Linked DNA regions of Homo sapiens: all the other regions are linked to region 3. Evidence: promoter capture Hi-C in 16 types of primary human blood cells and fetal thymus (Javierre and others, 2016). All regions are on one chromosome and are shown on one strand. The core of a region is centred on a gene start or on the middle of the fragment in contact, and the rest is flanking DNA. Distances in the headings are between cores, read along the strand shown. Region 1 overlaps ZNF430 (zinc finger protein 430). Region 2 holds the start of ZNF714 (zinc finger protein 714). Region 3 holds the start of ZNF100 (zinc finger protein 100). Region 4 has its middle 72 kb from the start of ZNF431. Region 5 holds the start of ZNF85 (zinc finger protein 85).

The links. The method cuts DNA at HindIII sites, captures the fragments that hold promoters and counts their contacts. A CHiCAGO score of 5 or more calls a contact.
Region 1: a fragment that was not itself captured here is called in contact with the fragment with the promoter of ZNF100 in region 3 in 1 of 17 cell types (monocytes); the score reaches 5.0 in monocytes.
Region 2: a contact is called between the fragment with the promoter of ZNF714 here and the fragment with the promoter of ZNF100 in region 3, in 3 of 17 cell types (neutrophils, total CD8 T cells and fetal thymus). The highest score is 9.3, in neutrophils.
Region 4: a fragment that was not itself captured here is called in contact with the fragment with the promoter of ZNF100 in region 3 in 1 of 17 cell types (neutrophils); the score reaches 6.2 in neutrophils.
Region 5: the fragment with the promoter of ZNF85 here is called in contact with the fragment with the promoter of ZNF100 in region 3 in 1 of 17 cell types (fetal thymus); the score reaches 5.3 in fetal thymus.

What each region holds. Positions count from the first base shown.
Region 1 is chr19:21,047,517-21,050,216 of GRCh38, reverse strand. All of the region lies in intron 4 of ZNF430 (zinc finger protein 430), which reads right to left. Among named protein-coding and RNA genes, the nearest start is that of ZNF430, 28 kb to the right of the region's middle. The HindIII fragment of the contact is 4,673 bases long and covers 1-2,700 here.
Region 2 is chr19:21,080,785-21,083,484 of GRCh38, reverse strand. It overlaps ZNF714 (zinc finger protein 714), which reads right to left and starts at 1,282. Exons shown (of 5, transcript NM_182515.4): 1 at 1,137-1,282. RefSeq lists an enhancer at 794-943. The HindIII fragment of the contact is 3,534 bases long and covers 1-2,700 here.
Region 3 is chr19:21,766,155-21,768,854 of GRCh38, reverse strand. ZNF100 (zinc finger protein 100) reads left to right here and starts at 1,276. Exons shown (of 5, transcript NM_173531.4): 1 at 1,276-1,428. The coding sequence starts at 1,426. RefSeq lists a silencer at 1,112-1,289. The HindIII fragment of the contact is 10,466 bases long and covers 1-2,700 here.
Region 4 is chr19:21,212,632-21,215,331 of GRCh38, reverse strand. No RefSeq gene overlaps it. Among named protein-coding and RNA genes, the nearest start is that of ZNF431, 72 kb to the right of the region's middle. The HindIII fragment of the contact is 5,121 bases long and covers 1-2,700 here.
Region 5 is chr19:20,921,838-20,924,537 of GRCh38, reverse strand. ZNF85 (zinc finger protein 85) reads right to left here and starts at 1,287. Exons shown (of 4, transcript NM_003429.5): 1 at 1,135-1,287. The coding sequence starts at 1,137. The HindIII fragment of the contact is 9,960 bases long and covers 1-2,700 here.

The DNA of each region.
Region 1 (2,700 bases), core at 34-2,533, 720 kb after region 3:
ATTCATGAAATAAATCTTAGAAGAATATAGGGGGGCTGGGCACAGTGGCTCATGCCTGTAATCCCAGCACTTTGGGAGGCCGAGGCAGGCGGATCACACAGTCAGGAGATCGAGACCGTCCTGGCTAAGACGGTGAAACCCTGCCTCTACTGAAAAAATACAAAAAATTAGCCAGGTGTGGTGGTGGGCGCCTGTGGTCCCAGCTACTCGGGAGGCTGAGGCTGAGATCGAGCCACCGCACTCCAGCCTGGGTGACAGAGAGAGACTCTGTCTCAAAAAAAAAAAAGAGAAGAATAATGTAGGGAAAAAGTAATACAGAGGTAAATTAAAGAAAACGAAAGCTGAGAACTTCCCAAATTTTGATGTAATAAAAAATTCTAACCAATAATATTTAATTCAAAGTTATTTTACTTGAAAAACAAAATAAAAATACAGACTTTCCTAAATTAAATTTCAGGGTGTTCACTATAAGAAATGTTACACGAAATGTAACAAGAAATGTTACACGAAATGTAACAAGAAATGTTGCACGAAATGTAACAAGAAATGTTGCAGGAAACGTAACAAGAAATGTTGCACGAAATGTAACAAGAAATGTTACATGGTGGCCAGACATAGTGGCTCATGCCTGTAATTCTACAGCTTTAGGAAGCCAAGGCAGTCAGATCTCTTGAGACCAGGAGTCCAAGATCCAGTCTGAGAAACACAGACTCTGCATATAAACAAATAGAAATGCTAAAATGAATCCATTTTGTTGAAAAATAAAATGATGCTAGACAGCATCATAAAACCATATATAAAGCTCCCTATTAAATATAAATATACAGATACATATAGAATTTTTTACTATCATAATGGTGCATAAAACCGTTAAAGTTCTGTAGATATAAAAATACAAGATATAAATCTGTTAATAGATACATAATATAATTTGTAGTATCAATAACAAACTGGAAAACATAGCAGTATAGGTTTTGTATTTAATTAAAGTTTAAGAAGTTAAAATATATCTTTTTTACTTTTTTTTTTTTTTTTTTTTTTTTGAGATGGAGTCTTGCTCTGTCACCCAGGCTGGAGTGCAGTGGCGCAATCTCGGCTCACTGCAACCTCTGTCATCTGGGTTCAAGTGATTATCCTGCCTCAGTCTCAGATGTCCTCCACCACATACCTAATTTTTGTATTTTTAGTAGAGACAGTTTCACCATGTTGGCCAGGCTGGTCTCAAACTCCTGACCTCAGGTGATCTATCCATCTCAGCCTCCCAAAGTGTTGGGATTACAGGTGTGAGCCACCATGCTTGGCCTTATTTTTTTAACTTTAAGATATTTTATGCCCCATCTGGGAGGGAGGTGGGGGGCAGCCCCTGCCCGGCCAGCCACCCCGTCCAGGAGGGAGGTTGGGGCCAGCACCCGCCCGGCCAGCCGCCCCGTCCGGGAGGTGGGGGGCGCCTCTGCCCGGCCGCCCCTTCTGGGAAGTGAGGAGCCCCTCTGCCCAGCCGCCACCCCGTCTGGGAGGTGTACCCAACAGCTCATTGAGAACGGGCCATGATGACGATGGCGGTTTTGTCGAATAGAAAAGGGGGGAATGTGGGGAAAAGATAGAGAAATCAGATTGTTGCTGTGTCTGTGTAGAAAGAAGTAGACATAGGAGACTCCATTTTGTTCTGTACTAAGAAAAATTCTTCTGCCTTGGGATGCTGTTAATCTATAACCTTACCCCCAACCCCATGCTCTCTAAAACATGTACTGTGTCCACTCAGGGTTAAATGGATTAAGGGCGGTGCAAGATGTGCTTTGTTAAACAGATGCTTGAAGGCAGCATGCTCGTTAAGAGTCATCACCACTCCCTAATCTCAAGTACCCAGGGACACAAACACTGCGGAAGGCCGCAGGGTCCTCTGCCTAGGAAAACCAGAGACCCTTGTTCACTTGTTTATCTGCTTACCTTCCCTCCACTATTGTCCTATGACCCTGCCAAATCCCCCTCTGCGAGAAACACCCAGGAATGATCAATAAATACTAAAAAAAAAAAAAAAAAAAAAAAAAAAAAAAAGATGTTTTATGTAATCTCCATTTTAAGATGATTACATTATACTTCAAGGTGATTACATAATATTTATAAAAAGTATGCAAAAAATGAAAAAATAATCAAAGCATGTAACGATAAAGTTAACAAAAATAAAGGTAGTAAAACAGGAAATGAGAAAAAACTTATCTACAAGAAATACATAAAACAGGAACAATGAGGTGGTTTCTGCAGATCAGCAGACTTAGTCTTTCCCCCTGCTGGCTCTGAGCAATCCAGGCAGTACAGATGTATGGAATTTCCCTCAGTGCAGCACAGCCACTCCACCAAGGTGCAGCCAGAGTGCTTTCTTAAGTGGTTCCCAGATCTCATGCATCCTGACTGGGTGAGACCCCCACAACAGACATCGTCAGACAACTTATAAAGTAGTGTTCCCACTGTCATCAGATCATTCCCCTTCTGGGACAAAGACCCCAGAGGAAGGAGCAAGCAGTCCTCTCTGCTATTCTGCAGGCTCCACTGGTTGACACCTCCAGGTGTGAGAGAAACCCAGGCAAATAGGGTCTGAAGTAGATCCCAAGCAAATCACAACAGTGCTACAGAAAAGTGGCCTGATGGTTAGAAAAACAAACAGAAAGCAACAACAAAAACAGCATGAACAAAAAAATCCTCACA
Region 2 (2,700 bases), core at 33-2,532, 690 kb after region 3:
GACGGGAGGTTAGATTTAAGACAGTGCTTGGGACACAGTTGAAAAATGCACCAGAAAATCAGTTCCCCATGGAGTGTGAAAATAATTAAGCGGCGGGAAATTAGACTGAGGTGTCTCTAGTCCCTGGATTCCTACTTTTAAAAAAATCTGGCTGGGCGCGGTGGCTCACGCCTGTAATCCCAGCACTTTGGGGAGGCCGTGGAGGGCAGATCACCTGAGGTCGGGAGTTCGAGACCAGCCTGACCAACATGCAGAAACCCGTCTCTACTAAAACCACAAAATTAGACGGGCGTGGTGGCGCATGCCTGTAATCCCAGCTACCTGGGAGGCTGAAGCATTGGATCGCTTGAACCCGGGAGGCAGAGGTTACGGTGAGACAAGATCGCCCCATTGCACTCCAGCCTGGGCAACAAGAGCGAAACTCCATCTTAAAAAAAAAAAATCTAACTGAGGTGCATTTTTAGTAAATTACTACATTGAGAGAAACAAAATTCATCCTTAACCAACTATAAACTGCCAATTAACATCTAATTACATAACCAGGAAATTTTCACCTTTATTTTACAAATTAAGAAACTATGTATCTGAACCTAACCAATTACTGAATTTGGTTTTCTTCATCATGCTGTTTATAAAAGTCTTTACTTCAAGCCCCGCCCATAAACCATAAATTACAAACCACAGCTGGGTGCTCCACAATTTTTGAATCACGCTTTGATTAAATGCTTTAGTGTTTTAACGGTGACTCCCATACATTTTCAACAGAAGAGGAACTGGAACCCCACGGACCCATTCATAAACCCGCACCCCGAGTCAGGATTCTACCCCTGGGACCCTCCAGTGGTCCCTGCACAATCCGGGAGAGACGCGCCGCTGAGGGTCCAGAGCTGCCCTGAGAGGACTCCAGGTCAGGGCCCAGTCACTGCGCAGGGAAAAGACAGGACGCCCGGGATCCCGCAGTCAGCGCAGCCGCCATCTTATGGCTGAAGGGGACTGAGGCCGAGCTGAGCAAGGAGAACTCCGGGCGCAGATTGTAGAGTTGACTGCGGGGAGGCCTAAGTCCCACCACAGCCACTTCCCACCGCTTACAACCCGCCCCTTCCCCTCTCTCGGGATGTCGGACCCGGCACTCTCACCATTTCTAGGCTTCCGGGGTACCTGGCGTCTTAGCTGTGGATCTCTCAATACCTGCAGGTCACAGGGCCACAGAGGCTGGGCCTCTGCGAGCAGAGGACACAGGGCAGTGAAGGCGAGACCTGCAGCTCCAGCTGCAGCGAGAGACAAAGGCCCCGCCACATCCCCGAAGCCGTCCTGTCCGCTCCAGCTGCAGGCCTGATTGGACGGTTCCCAACCCAGCGTCGCTGATTGGATAACTTTTAAAACCCCACCTTCTCGTGCCCTGAGTGACAGAAGATGTGATCAGTTGCTGGGCTGAGTGAAGAAAGGGTGACAGCCTAGGCTGCAGCCTTCTCAGGCAGGGCTTCCTCCCAGAGCTGAGCCAGGCCCACCCCAGAGGGAATTTGCCTTTAAACTTGTGTGTAAAGTCATATGCATTTATAAATAATATATGGCTCTTCACAAAGGAAAAAATATAATTTTATAATAACAATTATTTTAAAATTTCAGATTTTATGACCTTCCTGGCTTCTTTCTGGTCTTTGAGCAGGCAGGCTGAGATTTTAGAAAGGAGGTAATCCTCTGAAATAAAATGTGAGCCATATGTGAATTTTAAGTTTTCTAGTAGCCAAACTTGAAAAAGAAACAAGAACAGGTTGAATTGATTGTAACAATTTAATTAACCCAATATATCAAAAAAATTTTCATTTTAATGTGTGAGAAATATGTAATTATTAATAAAGTATATAAATATTTGGAACTAAATCTTTGAAACTAACTCTGTATTTTACCTTTCTAGCATCGCACTTCAGACCAGGCGCCACACATGGCCAATAACTGCCACATTGAAGTGCAGCTCTGATGTCAGCGGTGTGAAGGGCCCAAGCAAACCTTTTCTGCCAGAGGTGAAGGAAGAGCCTCTCCCTACCAACATCTCTCTTCCGTTCCGGGGGTGGAACAGATAGTGGCCAAAGAAAGAGGAGACGGCAGCAGGAATAAAATAATTACAAGTAAAGCACTGCTGGATGAGATCACAGGCGCGCGCCACCATGCTCGGCTAATTTTTTGTATTTTTAGTAGACACGGGGTTTCACCATGTTGGCCAGGCTGGTCCTGAACTCCTGACCTCAGGTGATCTGCCCGCTTTGGCCTCCCAAAGTGTTGGGATTACAGGCGTGAGCCACCGCACCCAGCCTCAAAATGTTTTTTCTTTCTTTTTTTTTAATTTTAAAAAATGATGGGAACATGTCAAAGGGAGCCAGCCTGAAAGAACTCCCAATGGTCCATCCTGGAACAATGTTAGCATCCAAATGAATAATTAGAGCACTGACCTATAAAATAAATCAAGTCAAATAAATAAATACCCATGCATTTACACTGATACACAAAAAACTTTAAATAAATAAAAAAGAAAAAAGGATAGGGAAATTTTTTTTTACAGAATTCCAAATACTAATCAACATAGATAAAATGCTAAAGAAACCATCACAAAACCACCAGTTATTATTGTATCCAAGGTTAACTGAGGAGTGTAAAAATTGTAAATAACACTTAAAAAATAAGCATTGTATTTGCATAGCACCA
Region 3 (2,700 bases), core at 27-2,526:
CTAATACATGCACCCAGTACAGATAAGTTGCCAGGATTCAGTGACAGGTTGACTAAGAGTTGGCTTCTAACAGTGGACACCCTCTAGGTACTGATTTCTTCCCCTGATTTAAAGTTCGATGTTTTGTAAGAGAATTTTGGGTAATGCAGAAATACCTGTAGACATGTATGCGTGTGATTGGTGCTTAGACTCACATAGTCCCCCACACCACAGGAGAAAACAGATAAACACAGCCTGATTGTTAGGGCCAAGACCATATAGCAAACTATGTTTGTTTTTAATCTATTTTCTCCATCTCTAAATACTGGAGTTCAAGTGTGTGGACAGAACTGAAGACATAGTTGTTTTTTCTCCTGTGGCCCCATCATCCTTTGTTCACTATCTGGTCTCTAAAAGAAAGGTGGGCAACAGGTGGCCAGCAGTTGTTTATTACCTGTGGCTATTTTATTCCTACTGCCCTCAGCTCTTTCTATGGGAACTATCTGGTCCACCCTAGGAACCAAAGAGAGATGTTTGTAGGGAGAGTCTCTTCTTTCACTCTCGCAGGAAAGAGATGTTCAGGCCCTTCACACCGCTGACATCAGAGCTGCACTTCAATGTGACAGCTATTGTCCATGTGTGGCTACTGGGTTCCCACAATGTGCCTGGTCTGAAATGCGATATGCTAGAAAGGTAAAATACAAAGTCAGCTTCAAAGATTTAGTTCCAAATATTTATATATTTTATCAATAATTACATATTTCTCACACATTAAAATGATAATATTTTGAATATAATGGGTGAATTACATTGTTAACAATCAGTTCAACTTGTTTCTTTTTAAAGTTTGGCTACTAGAAAATTTCAAATCCACATGTGGCTGACATTCATTTTAGATGATTTTCTCTTTTCTAAAATCTCAGGCTGCCTGCTCAAAGGGCCAGAAGCCAGGAAGGTCATAAAAGCTGAAATTTTAAAATAATTGTTATATTCTTTTCACTTGTGTATAGCTATATAATGTATTATTTATTTATACATATGACCTTATACACAAATTTAAAGGCAAATACTCTCTGGGATGGGCCTAGCTCAGCTGAGGGAGGAAGCCCTGTCAGAAGAGGGGGCAGTCTAGGCTGTCACTCTTTCTTCATTGAACCCGCATCTGATCACATCTTCTGTCACTCAAAGCCTGACAGGGCGGGGATTTAAGCATTATCCAACCAGGGACGCTGGGCTGGAAACCGTCCAATCAGGCATGCAGCTGGAGCGGACTGGACGGCTTCCGGGTTTGGCGGGGTCTTTGTCTCTCGCTGTAGCCGGAGCTCCAGGTTTTGCTCTCACTTCTCTGTGTCTTCTGCTCCTAGGGGCCTAGCCTGTGTGGCCCTCTGACCTGCAGATATTGGGAGATCCACAGCTAAGACGCCAGGACCCCCTAGAAGCCTAGAAATGGTGAGAGTGCCCGGTCCGACATCCCGAGAGACGGCGAAAGGGCTGGTTGGAACTGGTGGGAAGTAGCTGTGGCGGGACTCAGGCCTCTCCGCAGTCAGCTTCACAATCTGCGCCTTGCCCAGCTCGGCCTCCGTCCCCTTCGGCCATAAGATGGCGGCTGCGCTGACAGCCAGGACCCCAGGCGTCCTTTCTCTTCCCTGCGTAGTGACTGTGCCTTGGCCTGGAGCCCTCTCTTGGCAGCTCTGCACCCGCAGCGCCGCGTCTCTCTCAGATTGTGCAGGGACCACGGGAGGGTCGTCAGGGGAAAATCCTGACTCGGGGTGCGGGTTCATGAATGGGAAGATCTTTGGTCCGTGGCTTTCCCAGTTCCTCTTTTCTCCTATTAAAAATGTATGGGAGTCACTGCACAAATATTAACGATTTTTTTGTTTGTTTGAGACGGAGTCGCTCTGTCGCCCAGGCTAGGGTTTAGTGGCGCGATCTCCCCTCACTGCAACCTCCGCCTCCCGGGTTCTGGAGATTCTCCTGGCTCAGCCTCCCGAGTAACTGGGATTACAGGCGCCTGTCACTGGGCCGGCCTTATTTTTTTGTATTTTTAGTTGGGACGGGGTTTCACCTCGTTGGCCAGGCTGGTCTTGAACTCCTGACCTCGTGATCCGCCCGCCTTGGCCTCCTAAAGTGCTGGGATTACAGGCGTGAGCCACCGCGCCTGGCCTAAAGAATTTAATCAAACAGTGATTCAAGAATCATAGAGTATCCAGCTATGGTTTGTAGTTTGTTGTCTATGGGAGAGGCTTGAAGGAAAGTCATTTATAAAATGTATGATGAAGAAAACTAAATTTAGTAATTGGTTACAGTAACGTAGTTTCTTGATTTGTACAATACAGGTGAAGATTTCCTGGTTGTGTAATCAGAGGTTAATTAACAGTTTATAGTTGTTTAAGCCTACATTTTCTCTGAATGTAGTAATTAAAAAAAAAATGCACCTGAGTTAGATTTTTTTTTTTTTTAAGTAGGAACCCAGGGACTAGAGACACCTCAGTGGAATTGCCTGTCTCTTAATTATTTTCACACTCCACGGGGAACTGATTTTCTGCTGCATTTTTCACCTGTGTCCCAAGCAGGTTGTTAAGTCTAACCCCCGTCCCCCATTTCTCCAGCCTCACTCTGGCTTGCAGTAAGATACTAAATTTCCAATTTCTTCTGGCGTTCCCAAATGTCAACTTTTCCTTCCTAATTCACATTATCACCTATTTGTCCTTTAGTGTACTT
Region 4 (2,700 bases), core at 183-2,682, 550 kb after region 3:
ACAGCAAAGACTGGAACTAGAGAGACTCCATCTATGGGAGTCTTAGATCATTATTTATGAAGAGGTGGAAAGTGGTGTTATTAGTTAGCATGTTCTGAGTGGTCTTGTTGGTGTACATACACAGTGGCTGTACATGCTTATGTGTCACATATCTTATTAGCATCTTTAATCTCCACTCACTTGTGTGTTTTTTACTATTATAATGAGTAAAAGGTCAGAGGACAAGTAAAATCAAAATGTGCATGTTCTTTACAGGGGAGTAAAGAACTCTCTTCCCTACTGAAGAGAGCTGTGCTTCAGTGAGCTGAAATACAATGCAAATGTTGGGGCTTATTGTGTTGCCAATATGCTGTCACTATGCAATCGCCATGCCTGCTGCATGTCCCAAGGACATGGTGACCTTCTTGGCTACCTAGCCTCCCTCAACAGTACTTGTCTTAGTTTATTTTCAACTATCAACTCTGAGAGTAAGATTTCGCTGTTATGTCAATATTGTCAAAAGTGGGAAAATGAAATTTTTAAAATCACACATTTGAGCTTGATTTGGGTCACTAGCTGTGTACCCAGGAAAAATTATTTTATGTCCCTGGAGCGTCAGTCAATATGTATGCATTGGTGAATGTTTTTGTTTTTGGTGTAGGTTTTTGTTTGTTTACATTTTAAAAGATATTTTTTCCTAATTTATGCTGATGTTAAGCTACACAAAACTTACCAAGAGCTCTATTTTACTACATTTTTCAACCAAAAGGTTGAATACTTAAGTATTGAAAGTGGCATTCTGGATTATCCTTTTCCATGTGATGGAGTCTGCATTTATCAGACTACATTGCAGTTTTTCCTTATGTGGTGCAAGGTTATAAAAATGCCATCCAGTTGATTTCTTAGGTAACAGTAGAATGTGTTTTTTCAGACAGTAGCATGAGATTTCCTGACATGCTACCTTTAGACACAATGAAAGAAAATGAATAAATGTGTATTAATTTGTCTTTATTTATAAGGTCATTAGAGGCTAAGTCATGGCAACACGTGTAGTTCAATCCAAATATTTTTGTGTAAAATTTTGTTGAGCCACATCCATCTGTATATGTGACACTAATTTGGTAACAGCTTCTTTATACTAAGCCAGAATTCATTTTACCTGGTGGTTTTGTTTTAAATATGTGAGTTGTATTATATCACATTTAATTAAGCAATATAAATTTAGTTCAGAGGTTATAGAAAGAAAAGTACAGGCACACTAAAAATGAATTGGAATCTGGCACCTGACACTGATTAACAGTTTAAGCAAATTTGACTAGATGTAAATTCCTGTAAAAAATACTGAAAGAAGGAATGTTAACTAAAAATATCTTCAACAACATAATAAATAGACTTATGAGATTTGAAAAAAAAGTTGATTTGTATACCATTATCAATATTAGGTTAAATTAGAAAATTGTGAACACATCATACAAAAAATAAAACTAGTAAACTATCCTCAGACTTCATCTGATTAAAACAAAACTTCTGGGTATTTGAAAGCATCAAATTATTGATGAGAAATATCTATTTTGAACAGATTCTTGATCTTTTATACATATTACTACTAAGTAAAACCTAATACAGCTCTGATTTCTGAAATATTTATGAATGTCTATCACTGTAGTGAAAAATCAAGAAATTTAAATCTACTGTCTAAATTTTGATGAAAATATTGTTATTTTAATTGAATACCAGTATTCATATAGTATGGCAAACCACCCATTTCTTTAGTATTCTGCTATTTTATAAAATATCCTAGAATTTGTGGAGACATTTGTAAAAATAAAAAAGTTCTAAAAAAATATAGACATCAGAAAATAGTGATATTAGTCCCTCTCCCTCGTCTCCCTCTCCCTCGTCTCCCTCTCCCCGGTCTCCCTCTGATGCCACCAAAGTTGTGAAAGCCGAGGCTGGACTGTACTGCCGCCATCTCGGCTCACTGCAACCTCCCTGCCTGATTCTCCTGCCTCAGCCTGCCGAGTGCCTGGGATTGCAGGCGCGCGCCGCCACGCCTGACTGGTTTTTGCATTTTTTGGTGGAGATGGGGTTTCGCTGTGTTGGCCGGGCTGGTCTCCAGCTCCTGACCGCGAGTGATCTGCCTGCCTCGGCCTCCCGAGGTGCCAGGATTGCAGACGGAGTCTCACTCCCTCAGTGCTCAATGTTGCCCAGGCTGGAGTGCAGTGGCGTGATCTCGGCTCGCTACAACCTCCACCTCCCAGCCGCCTGCCTTGGCCTCCCAATGTGCTGAGATTGCAGCCTCTGCCCGGCCACCACCCCGTCTGGGAAGTGAGGAGCATCTCTGCCTGGCCACCCATCGTCTGGGATGTGAGGAGCCCCTCTGACCGGCTGCCCAGTCTGGGAAGTGAGGAGCGCCTCTTCCCGGCCGCCATCCCGTCTAGGAAGTGAGGAGTGTCTCTGCCCGGCCGCCCATCGTCTGAGATGTGGGGAGCACCTCTGCCCTGCCGCCCCATCTGGGATGTGAGGAGCGCCTCTGCCTGACCGCGACCCCATCTGGGAACTGAGGAGTGTCTCTGCCTGACCGCCACCCCATCTGGGAGGTGAGGATCGTCTCTGCCCGGCTGCCCCATCTGAGAAGTGAGGAGCCCCTCCGCCTGGCAGCCGCCCCATCTGAGAAGTGAGGAGCCCCTCCGCCCGGCAGCCACCCCGTCTGAGAAGTGA
Region 5 (2,700 bases), core at 38-2,537, 840 kb after region 3:
CCTGCTTGAGACATATGTGAAAAATGCAGGGGAAAAGAAGTCCCCTGTGGACTGTGAAAATGATTCAGTGGCAGGCAATTAGACTGAGGTGGCTCTAGTCCCTGGGGTCCTCCTTTTTAAAAAAATCTAACTAAAATTTCATTTTTTAGTAAATTACCACATCGGGGAAAACAAAATTCAGGCTTAACCAACTATAAACTGCCAATTAAATTCTGATCACATAACCAGAAAATTGCCAACACGATCGTACAAATTAAGAGACTATATAACTGTACCTAACCAATTACTAATTTGATTTTTTTATCATGCACCTTATAAAAGTCTTTTATTCAAGCTCCTCCCATGGACCACAAACTACAAACCATAGCTGAGTGCTCTACAATACTTGAACCACTTTTTAAGTTCTTTAATATTTTTGCGGTGACTCCTATACATCTTTTTTTTTTTTTTTTGAGACGGAGTTTCACTCTTATTGCCCAGGCTGGAGTGCAGTGGCGCGATGTAGGCTCACTGCAACCTCCGCCTCCCGGGTTCAAGCGATTCTCCTGCCTCAAACTCCTGAGTAGCTGGGATTGCAGGCGCGCGCCACGACGCCCGGCTAATTTTTGTATTTTTAAAAATTGAGACGGGGTTTCACCATGTTGGCCAGGATGGTCTTGAACTCCTGACCTCAGATGATCCGCCCGCCTCGGCTTCCCAAAGTGCTGAAATTACAGGCGTGAGCCACCACGCCCGTCCCCCCATACATTTTTAACAGAAAAAAAGAGGAACTGGGAACCCCACAGCCCAAAGCTCTTTCATGAACCCGCACCCCGAGTCAGGATTCTCCCCTGACAACCCTCCCGTGGTCCCTGCTCAATCTGGGAGAGACGCGGTGCTGCGAATGCAGAGCTGCCCAGAGAGGGCTCCAGTCCAGGGCACAGTCACTGCGCAGGGAAGAGACAGGACGCCCGGGCCGGCTGTCAGCGCAGCCGCCATCTTATGGCTGGAGGAACTGGGGCCGAGCTGGGCAAAAAGAACTGGAGCGCAGATTGTGGAGCTGACTACAGGGAGGCCTGAGTCCCGCCACAGCCGCTTCCCACCGGTTTCAACCAACCCCTTTCCCCCTCGGGATGGCGGACCTGGCACTCTCACCATTTCTAGGCTTCCAGGGGGTCCCGGCGTCTTAGCTGTGGATCTCCCAATACCTGCAGGCCACAGGGCCACAGAGGCTGGGCGTCCACGAGCAGAAAACACAAAGCAGGGAAAACAAGACCTAGAGCTCAGGCTGCAGCGAGAGACAAAGGCCCCGCCACATCCCGGAAGCCGCCCTATCCGCACCAGCTGCGTTCCTGATTGGACGGTTCCCAGCCCAGCGTCTCTGATTGGATGATATTTAAGGCACCTTCTTTTCAGGCCCTGAGTGACAGAAGATGTGATCAGATGCTGGGCTGAAAGAAGAGCGAGTGACAGCCTAGGCTGCAGCCTTTTCAGACAGGGCTTCCTTCCTGAGCTGAGCCAGGCTCACACCAGAGAGTATTTGCCCTTACCTTGTGTATCAATTTATATGCATTCAAAAATAATATATTATATGGCTATTCACAAATGAACAAAGTATAACAACAATTGTTCTAAAATTTTAGATTTTATGACCTTCCTGTATTCTGGTCCTTTGAACAGGCAATCCTCTGAAATAAAATGTGAGTCACAGGTGAATTTTAAATTTTCTAGTAGCCAAACTTTAAAAAGAAAGAAGAAACAAGTGGAATTGATTGTAGCAATTTATTTAACCCAATATATTCAAAATATTTTCATTTTAATATGTGAGCAATATGTAATTATTAATGAAATATAAATACATTTGAAACAAAATCTTTGAAACTAATTCTGTATTTTACCTTTCTAGCACATCGCAGTTCAGACCAGCCACATTCCAGGCACCCAGGAGCCACACATGGCCAATAGCTGCCACATTGAAGTACAGCTGTGATGTCAGTGGGGGTGGAGGGCCTGAACACCCCTTTTCTGCCACAGGTGAGGGGACAGCCTCTATTTATCAACGTCTCTTTTCAGTTCCGAGGGTGAAACAAATAGTGGCTATAGAAAAAGCTGATGGCAGCAGGAATAAATCACAGGTAAACCACTGCTTACCACCTGTTGCCCATCTTTCTTTCAGAGATCAGACAGTGAGCAAAGGATGATGGGCCACAGGAGAAAAAAAACTATGTCTTCAGATCTGTTCACAGTCTTGACCTTTAATGTTTACATAGGAAGAAAATAGATTAAAGGCAAACTTATTTTGCTATTTGACCTCGACTCTAATGTTCAGGCTGTGGTTACCTGTTTTCTTCTGTGGTGTGGGAAACTGAGTGAATATAAGCACAATCACATGCATACATGTCCACATGTATTTCGGCATTTCTTTTTTTTGAGATGGAGTTTCACTCTTGTTGCCCAGGCTAAAGCGCAATGGTGTGGTCTTGGCTCACTGCAACCTCTGCCTCCTGGGTTCAAGCAATTCTCCTACCTCAGCCTCCCGAGTAGCTGGGATTACAGGCATGCACTACCACGCCCGGCTAATTTTTTGTACTTTTAGTAGAGACGGGATTTCTCCATGTTGGTCAGGCTGGTCTTGAACTCCTGACCTTAGGTGATCCAACCGCCTTGGCCTCCTAAAGTGCTGGGATTATAGGCATAAGCCACCACCCCTGGCCATATTTC